2 separate regions of the Homo sapiens genome follow, and region 1 is linked to region 2. Evidence: promoter capture Hi-C in 16 types of primary human blood cells and fetal thymus (Javierre and others, 2016). All regions are on one chromosome and are shown on one strand. The core of a region is centred on a gene start or on the middle of the fragment in contact, and the rest is flanking DNA. Distances in the headings are between cores, read along the strand shown. Region 1 overlaps NEMF (nuclear export mediator factor). Region 2 holds the start of LINC01588 (long intergenic non-protein coding RNA 1588).

Region 1 (5,166 bases), core at 1,741-4,240, 160 kb before region 2:
GCGACAGGGTGAGACTTATTCTCAAAAAAAATTAAAAAATAAAAAAAAAGAAAGAGTAAAAACTCAGGTTAGAGTAGAAAAGGACATTTACTACACAAATAATCAGCAAAGGGCTCATAATCAGATTAGATAAAGAGCTCTAAGAGATCATATCAAATGTTGCTAAGGATGTGGAGCTAAGGGAATTTTCAACATCAATGAATCTCACAGACATTATATATTGAATAAAAGAGCCAGGCGTGGTGGCTCACCCCCGTAATCCCAACACCTTAGGAGGTTGAGATGGGAAGATTGCTTGAGCCAGGGGTCCAAGGTCAGCCTGGGCAACGAAGTGAGAGTCTGTCTCTACAAAAAATAAAAAAATTGGCCAGGCATGGTGGTGCACATCTGTGGTACCAGCTACATGAAAGGCTAAGGCAAGAGGGTCACTTGAGCCCAGGAGGCCGAGTTTGCAGTAAGCCCTGATCATGCCACTGAATTCCAGCCTGGCCAACAGAGCAAGACTCTATCTCAAAAAAATAAAAAATATTGCATAAAAGAAGGCAGACCCAATGTCATGCATTGCTTAACAATGGGGATACATTCTAAGAAATGCATTTAGGCAACTTCGATGTCGTGTGAACGTAATAGAGTATACTTACACAAACCTAGACGGTGTAGCCTAATACATCCACCAAAGATATGATATAACCTATTGCTCCTAGGCTAGGAATCTGTATAGCATGTTACTGAATACTGTAGTCAACTGTAATACAATAGCAAGTATTTGTGTATCTAAGTACATCTAAATATAGAAAAAGTACAGTAAAAATATGGTATTACAACAACAGTTCCAGGCCGGGCGCAGTGGCTCATGCCTGTGATCCCAGCATTTTGGGAGGCCAAGGCGAGCAGATCACCTGAGGTCAGGAGTTTGAGAACAGTCTGGCCAATATGGTGAAACCCCATCTCTACTAAAAATACAAAAATTAGCTGGGCATGGTAGTACATGCCAGTAATACCAGCTACTCAGGAGGCTGAGGCACTAGGATTGCTTGAACCCGGGAGGCAGAGGTTGCAGTGAGCTGAGATCACACCCTTGCACTGCAGCCTGGGCAACAAAGTGAGACTCTGTATCAAAAAAAAAAAACCAAAACAAAACAAAAAAAAAACCGCAGTCCCCAGCCTTTGGCACCAGGGACCAGTTTCATGGAAGACAATTTTTCCATGGATGGGGGGTGCAGGGGTATGGTTTCCGGATGAAACTGTTCCACCTCAGATCATCAGGCATTAGATTCTCGCAAGAAGCATGCAACCTAGATCCCTTGCATGCACAGTTCACAATAGGGTTCACGCTCCTATAAGAATCTAATGCCACCACTGATCTGACAGGAGGCAGAGCTCAGGTGAGTAATGCTCACTCGCATACTGCTCACCTCCTGCCGTGTGGCCTGGTTCCACAGACCAGTTCCAGTCTGCGGCACAGGGGTTGAAGATCCCTGGTATAAAAGATTAAAAATGGAACACCTGTATAGGGCACTTACCATGAATGGAGCATGCAGGACTGAAAACTGCTCTGGGTGAGTGACAGTGAGTAAATGTGAAGGCCTGGGACATTACTGCATACTACTGTAGACTTGATAAATACTGCACACTTGGGCTACACTAAATTTGTTTTTTATTTTTTAATTTTTAAAAAAATTATGCTTACCTCAGACCAGATTAAATTTATGTATTTATTTATTTATATACATACACACGCACGCGCACGCGCGCGCACACACACACACACACACACACACACATATATTTTTTTTTTCCTTTTTGAGACTGAATCTCACTCTGTCACCTGAGCTGGAGTACAATGGCATGATCTCAGCTCACTGCAACCACTGCCTCCCAGGTTCAAGTGATTCTCCTGCCTCAGCCTCCCGAGTAGCTGGGACTACAGGCACGCACCACCACACCAGGCTAATTTTTGTATTTTTAGTAGAGATGCAGTTTTGCCACATTGGGCAGGCTGGTCTCAAACTCCTGACCTCAGGTGATCCACTCGCCTTGGCCTCCCAAAGTGCTGGGATTACAGGTGTGAGCCACCACACCTGGCCCAGATTAAGTTAGTTAGTTAGTTAGTTAGTTAGTTTATTTTTGAGACAAAGTCTTGCTCCGTTGCCCAGGCTGGAGCACAGTGACACAATCTGAGCTCACTGGAACCTCTGCCTCCCAGGTTCAAGTGATTCTCCTGCCTCAGCCTCCCGAGTAGCTGGGATTATAGGTGCCCGCCACCACGCCCAGCTAATTTTTGTATTTTTTAATAGAGACGGGGTTTTGCCATGTTGGCCAGGCTGGTCTTGAACTCCTGACCCCAGGTGATCTGACCCCAGGTGATCCGCCCTCCTCGGCCTCCCAAAATGCTAGGATTACAGGTGTGAGCCACTGTGCCCGGCCTGAGTCATTGCGCTCAGCCAAATTTATTTTTAAGATGTTTTTCTTTCTTCAATAATAAATTAACCTTTGCTTCCTGGAACTTTTTTACTTTATAAACTTTAAACTTTTTAGCTTTTTGACTCTTGTAATAACACTTAGCTTAAAACACATATCGTACAGCTGTACAATACTTTCTTTCTTTAGATCCATATTCTCTAAGCTTTTTTTCCATTTTAAATTGTTTTGTTTTTACTTTTAATGTTTTTGTTAAAAACTAACACACAAACTCACACACCAGCCTAGGCCTACACAGAGTCAGGATCAAGATGTCACTAAGCAGTAAGAATTTATTAGATCCATTACAATGTTACAGGACCAACGTTTATATGCAGTCTGTTGTTGACTGAAACATCACTATACATACAGCGCATCAGTGCATGACCGTATTTGACTATTTTCTGGTTGCATATTAGTCCTGAAATGTCAAGTACCAAATAATTTACTTCTCAGATCTTCATCTCCTACATTCATAAGGCTATTCTAAATGGCTAAAGTCTGCCTAAACTCAGACCTACAGATAAAATGAAGGTTATTACTGGAAAATTTTATTTTATTTGTGTGGCACCCATTTCCTAGGGTAGTAACAACCTTTGACACAGAAAAAAAATGTTCCCCCACTCATGTTATATAGCACTATTACAAAATGATTAATAAGAAATTTTCCTTCACCATATCCCACAAATTTAACTTACCCTATCATAGAGCTCAATGATTAAATGGTAAGCAGCTTCATCACTTCCAAATTGAAAATCTACAATTCTATCCACACCAAGCTGTTTTGCACTGACTAATCTCCGACTCTTCAAATGTTTTCGGCACTAGCAAGAGAAAGAAAAAGGCATTCATTTAGTAAAAGTGAATTCCTAACCATTTGGTATTGGTTTATAAATAAGCTTCTTTTCATTATCATCAGGAATATTTAAAACGTTGTGAATAACAGTATAGTCATAAAGTAATAGATTGCAGATGATAATCAGAGGGAAAACATTTTATTATAAACACTAACTCTGAAACAGTGTTTTATTTGCATTTTTTTAAGACAGGGTCTCACTCTGTCACCCAAACTGGAGCCCAGTGGTGTGATCATGGCTCGCTGCAGCCTCGACTTCCCTGGCTCAGGTGATCCTCCTGCATCAGCCTCCTGAGGATTGGGACCACAGGCACATGCCACTATCCCCAGCTAATTTTTTCATTATTTGTAGAGACAGGGTCTCACTATGTTGCCCAGGCTAATCTCAAACTCCTGGGCACAAGCAATCCTCCTGCCTTGGCCTCCCAAAGTGCTGGGATTACAAGCGTAAGCTACTGAGCCAGGCTTTTATTTTCAATTTTTAAGTAGAGAATGATGGACCTATAGCAAAATTTGCTTTGTTGCTTTATACCACTGCTAAATTCCTTGTTGTGGTCCTAATGACCTCACTCATAAGCCACAACCTTTATTTATTTACTTTATTTTGAGAGAGAGTCTCGCTCTGTCGCCCAGACTGGAATGCAGTGGCACAGTCTCAGCTCACTGCAACCTCCGCCTCCCAGGTTCAAGTGATTCTCCTGCCTCAGCCTCCTGAGTAGCTGAAATTACAGGCGTGTGCCACCACACCCGGCTAATTTTTCTATTTTTAGTAGAGACGGGGTTTCACCATGTTGGTCAGGCTGGTCTCGAAGTTCTGACCTCGTGATCCGCCCACCTCAGCCTCCCAAAGTGCTGGGATTACAGGCATGAGCCACTGTGCCCAGCCAACCTTTACTTATTTATTTATTTATTTATTTATTTGGAGACGGAGTCTCACTTTGTCACCCAGGCTGGAGTACAGTAGCACAATCTTGGCTCACTGCAACTTCTGCCTCCCAGGTTCAAGCAATCCTCCTGCCTCACCCTCCCAAGAGTAGCTGGGACTACAGGCGCCCACTACCACGCCTGGCTAATTTTTTGTATTTTAGTAGAGACGGGGTTTCTCCACGTTGCCCAGGCTGGTCTCGAACTCCTGAGCTCAGGCAATCTGCCCACCTCGGCCTCCCAAAGTGTTAGGATTACAGGCGTGAGCCACCACACCCAGTCCCTTTATTTTTTTTAAGTCTCTTTGATGACACTTCTAAGTATGCCAAATTTCCCTTTTGTATGCTTCATTTATGTTCAAAATTAATTAATTGTTTCCACTAATCTTCTACTTCTAATACATATCAACTATGGACCATGAGCTTATGGCTTATGGTATCCTGTAAATAGTCCACCACCTTATATCCAGTTACCCCTACCAATTCTTTTTTTTTTTTTTTTTTTTTTTTTTTTCTTTAAGAGAGTCTTTGCCAGGAGCGGTGGCTCAGGCCTGTAATCCCAACACTTTGGGAGGCCGAGGTAGGTGGATCACTTGAGGTCAGGAGTTCAAGACCAGCCTGGCCAATATGGTGAAACCCCATCTCTACTAAAAATACAAAAATTAGCTGGGCGTGCTGGCGCATGCCTGTAATCCCAGCTACTCAGGAGGCTGAGGCAAAAGAATCGCTTGAACCCAAGAGGCGGAGGTTACAGTGAGCCGAGATGACACTACTGCAATCCAGCCTGGGCAACAGAGCAAGACTCTGTCTCAAAAAAAAAAAAAAAAAAGAAAGGGACAGAGTCTCTCTGTTGCCCAGGCAAGGCTCAAACTCCTGGACTCAAGCAATCTCCCACCTTAGCCTCCCAAGTAGCTAGGATTACAAGTG
Region 2 (4,540 bases), core at 1,874-4,373:
GAGATAGTACTGTGTAGAAACTATTAAAATGTAAGTGCTGTCTGGGTACGGGAGCTCACGCCTATAATCCCAGCACTTTGAGAGGCTGAGGTGGGCTTGAGCTCAAGAGTTTGAGACCAGCCTGTGCAACATGGCGGCAAAACCCCTTCTCTACAAAAAATACAAAAATTAGCTGGGCATGGTGGTGTGTGCCTGTAGTCCCAGCTACTCTGGAGGCTGAGGTGGGAGGATGGCTTGAGCCTAGGAGGTGGAGGTTGCAGTAAACCAAGATCATGCTACTGCACGCCAGCCTGGGGGACAGAGCCAGATACTGTCTCAAAAAAAAAAAAAAAAAAAAAAAAGTAAGTGTTTTTCTGTTCTACAGAGATGCAAATGATTCCTATCTGGTCAGATAAATTACCTCAAAGGTTATAGTTTTGCTGCCCTGTAGCACATTAGCCAGTTTAGTATCTAACTTTGTGATCTTACGTCAGCATTCCTTTTCGTTCTCTGAGTACACAAAATCTTTATTCTCGTAATATCTTTGAACCAGTGTTGCCACCTTGCAAAGTCCCTTATGAATGAGTTACCTACCTCACCGATACATACTCACCATATCTTGTCAAGGCTTCATATTCCTTTCCCTGTATAGTCCCCACAAATATACACTGTCAGCTTTCAATGCACACCAAGCGCCCATTATTGATTCTTTGTCCCGAGTGGCTCCTCTGGAGCATATGCGTAACATCAGGGGGACATAGGGCTTTTAATTGTCAAAAGTATACAAACTCAGCACGTTATTCCAAATAATCTCTGCCCCTGCTCCCTCACATTTTGATCATGCCGTATCTGTGATCTGGGGCTGGGGACTCTGGCCCTCAAGATGCCTCCAATGCTCTCGGCCCCTGCTAAGAGCCTCTGCCCACACACGGGGTCATGCGCATAACCTTAGAACTCTGGGCACGGCTAGATGAACTGTGGCACGCACCTGATCTAGGCAGCAGCCCACTTCCCAGTTGGTCAGCCAGTGAAGGAAGGCTCAGCCCCACCAGGCCAGTGAGATTCTCCGTCTTGGCAAATTGCTTAAAGACTTGATAGTAAAGGAGAAAGAGATAAAGCAGGCACCTGAGGCCCCGAAGCAGCAGACACTTAAATAAGCAGCAGGAAGAAGGTCCTGGCAGAGACAGAACACCTGAGTTTTCCACATGGCACACGGACCTTGGAGGCACAGAGGGATGGGCCCCGCTACTGAGTGGCAAGAAGACGAAATGTCTGTGTCGTAGAACTGTGTGTGATCTTGAAAGACCTCTCGGTTCGTGAATGGCATCTTGGGTTCTGTCAGGCTCCACACAGGTTCTACTGCTCCTCTTCCTCCAACAGGCTGAGCTGTGTGACTTTTCCAGGGTTGCCATCCGACCTGTCATTTGGTCTGTGGCCCTTAGTTTCTTATCCACATGTGGCTGTAAAAGAAACTCCACAATCCTGGAGGGAACTCAGTGGGTCCCTACTTCCAATCCAAAAACCTCGACTCACTCTTTTACTTTTTCTAATAACTTAATAAGTTAAATAATAATAAAAGAATTGTTACCGTTGTTCAGCCAACTCTTTCCGGGCTCATCAACGATTTTCTAGGAAAGAAGGTTTCCTTGGTTAGACCTGCACTTCCTCTCTGTCTCTCTCCATTCATGTTTGAGCATTCATTCATTCTCCCCACAAGCACATCATGGATTCTAAAATGAAGAAGGCAATATTCGTACTTTGAAGATGCTCACATCTTGCATGTGCAGTGTTACAAGAGTGGGGTTGGTGCAGGAGTGAAATGGGAGGCCGTGTCCCGAGATGGGGTCACCAGAACCTGGAGTGACAAGGTGGAGGTGGGGAGAGGAGCTTTTCCTCCTGGCTTTCCCACAAACACTGACTTCCATGCCTCTGGCCTGGAACCACATGTAACCAAAGCCATATGTTCAACTTGCGTTAATTAAATGGTGGCCTCAGCAACATTTCTGGTGCTGCTTCTGTTGCTTTGGCATTATGATGTCTTCAATATTTGTTACTGTGTGTCGTTTGTCATGTTTAACCCAGTGGCTCAGATTCTATTTGTTTGTAAAACTTAAATGTTGAGAGACTTCTGTTCTTGATTTTTTAGAAAATAAAAATTATTTTTGGTTTATTCCATGAGAACATATCTTCTATAGGTTGAACCTCCAAGGTTCTTCCTTCTTGATTTTTCTGGGAGATGACTGTAATTTTTTTTTTTTTTTGAGACGGAGTTTCGTTGCTGTTGCCCAGGCTGCTGGAGTGCAATGGTGCAATCTCAGCTCACCGCAACCTCCGCCTCCCGGGTTCAAGGAATTCTCCTGCCTCAGCCTCCCAAGTAGCCGGGACTACAAATGCGTGCCACCACGCCCAGCTAATTTTTGTATTTTTAGTAGAGATGGGGTTTCACCATGTTGGTTAAGCTGGTCTTGATCCACCTGCCTCAGCCTCCCAAAGTGCTGAGATTATAGGCGTAAGCCACTGTGCCTGGTGTAATCTTAACTGCTTTTTAGGAAATGGTGTAAGAAAAGGCTGTGCCATAAACTCAAAATCCTACTAATCCCCAGTTCTCAGCCCCAAACCGAAGAAAGATTACATTTCCAGTCCAGTTTCTAATCCCAAGTATCCATGCACCCAGGATGGCGGGAAAAGGGAAAAGGCGGTACCTTAAATGAGGGAAGGACATCTCAGTCTTGGCCAGTTCTTACTCTTCCCAGGGGCCACCCTCAAGCCCCACCCTGAGCAGGTAAGTGAGGCAGGCAGGCAGCCTGGGAGCATGTGTGGGAGGGAATCCAACGGTGTTCTCCAGGCTGCAAGAGCTGGGCAGACACAATCGTGCTGCAGCCCTGGCCTGTGTTTTTCTTTCCCACAAAGACCAACACCGGTGCTGCTGACATCATGACAGGTTTGATCATTTTTATTTTGCGGTGAGCGTGGTGTCATGGTGATGAAGAGTCCTGTGAGCTTGTGCAGGTCCCCTCAACTGCAGGCTGTCCAGGCTTCCTCCTCTACAGTAAAGACAAGGAGAATGGCTGCTTCCTAAGGTGATGGCGAGGTAGGATGAGGAGTGTAAACGGCCCACCCTGCTCCCAGTGGTAACTATGGGTATGATTTCCTTTTGGGAGAAGACAGAGATTGCCCTTCTGATCCTCCCAGCTGTAAATTTGGGCTGGGGCAACTTTTAGACACAAACAGGGCACTCCTGGCTACAGGGCCTCAATGTTTTCCTTGAGGTGGAGTATCTAGGCATTTCCCTGAGGTTTCTGATGCCTGGGCAGGGTGGGGTGGGGTGTGGCTGGTTCTGACAGCTGTTCCCCACCCAGCTTTGTGCCCTGGGGAGGGAGATCTACCTGCACATCCCGCTGCACTGGATCTGCAGGGAGCTGGGGCTGCCCTTGGACGCCTCAGGCACAGGCCCTCATCCTCTGCCTAACTGCTTTTTACACCCATCCCTTGAGTCCAGGGAGATTTTGCCACAATTTCAAAAAAGAAATGATTATTCAGAAGGCATTCTTCTATATATTTCCTTTTTTTTTTTTTTTGAGATGGAGTTTCGCTCTGTCACCAGGCTGGAGTGCAGTGGCATGATCGGCTCACTGCAACCTCCGCCTCATGGGTTCAAGCGATTCTCCTGCCTCAGCCTCCCGAGTAGCTGGGACTACAGGTGCATGCCACCACGCCCAGCTAATATTTTAATTTTTAGTAGAGATGGGGTTTCACCATGTTGGCCAGGATGGTCTTAATCTCTTGACCTCGTGATCTGCCCGCCTCAGCCTCCCAAAGTGCTGGGATTACAGGCATGAGCCACCGTGCCTGGCCACATTTCTGTATATCTTGCAAGCAGACACACTGTCTGTCTTTTATTTGATCATCTTTCCAAGGATGCTGGTATAGCATGTATGCTTGGAAAATAGAGATGCTGTTTCTCCAGAGAAAGGGGGAGCTTGCTTGCATTCTTCTATGTAGTTCTAAGGCCCCTGCTCCACTGTACAGCAAGTGGCCACACCCTTAGTGTCTTCCTTGCCTAACCCAGACCCTTACAGCACTCAGCTTGGAAAAGACCCTTGCAGCGCTCAGTTGGGTGCCATGATTATGCCTGTAATCCCAGCACTTAGGGAGGCCAAGGTGGGTGGGTCACTTGAGCCTGGGAGTTTGAGACCAGCCTGGGCACCATGGCAAAACGCCATCTCTAAAAAAAAAAAAAAAAAAAACCACAAAAATTAGCCAGGCATGAGGATGCACCTGTAGTCCCAGCTACTGGGGAGGTTGCTGCAGTGGGAGGATTGCCTGAACCCAGGGAGGTTGAGGCTGCAGTGGGCTGTGATTGTGCCACTGCACTCTATCTTGGGTGACAGAGTGAGACCCTGTCTCAAACGAAAACAAAATTTCAAAAAAAAAAAAAAGAATGCATTCTTGCCCTTAGAGGCTCCATCCTCACCTCCCTCTTCTGGTTTCTCTTCCTCTGTCTCTGCTGTGTGTGTCTTTAATAAAGAACACTGAAATTAGTGAGCCAGGTTTGCCTCCT

What was found. Contacts are between HindIII fragments. The CHiCAGO score rates a contact against its expected background, and 5 or more counts as called.
Region 1: a contact is called between a fragment that was not itself captured here and the fragment with the promoter of LINC01588 in region 2, in 8 of 17 cell types (activated CD4 T cells, naive CD8 T cells, total CD4 T cells and 5 more). The highest score is 10.1, in activated CD4 T cells.

Annotation. Positions count from the first base shown.
Region 1 is chr14:49,842,982-49,848,147 of GRCh38, forward strand. It overlaps NEMF (nuclear export mediator factor), which reads right to left. Exons shown (of 33, transcript NM_004713.6): 4 at 3,159-3,284. Among named protein-coding and RNA genes, the nearest start is that of NEMF, 7.2 kb to the right of the region's middle. The HindIII fragment of the contact is 733 bases long and covers 2,625-3,357 here.
Region 2 is chr14:50,004,397-50,008,936 of GRCh38, forward strand. LINC01588 (long intergenic non-protein coding RNA 1588) reads right to left here and starts at 3,124. Exons shown (of 4, transcript NR_126498.1): 1 at 1,198-3,124. It overlaps LINC01599 (long intergenic non-protein coding RNA 1599), which reads right to left. Exons shown (of 9, transcript NR_131171.1): 9 at 2,917-3,023. The HindIII fragment of the contact is 14,705 bases long and covers 1-4,540 here.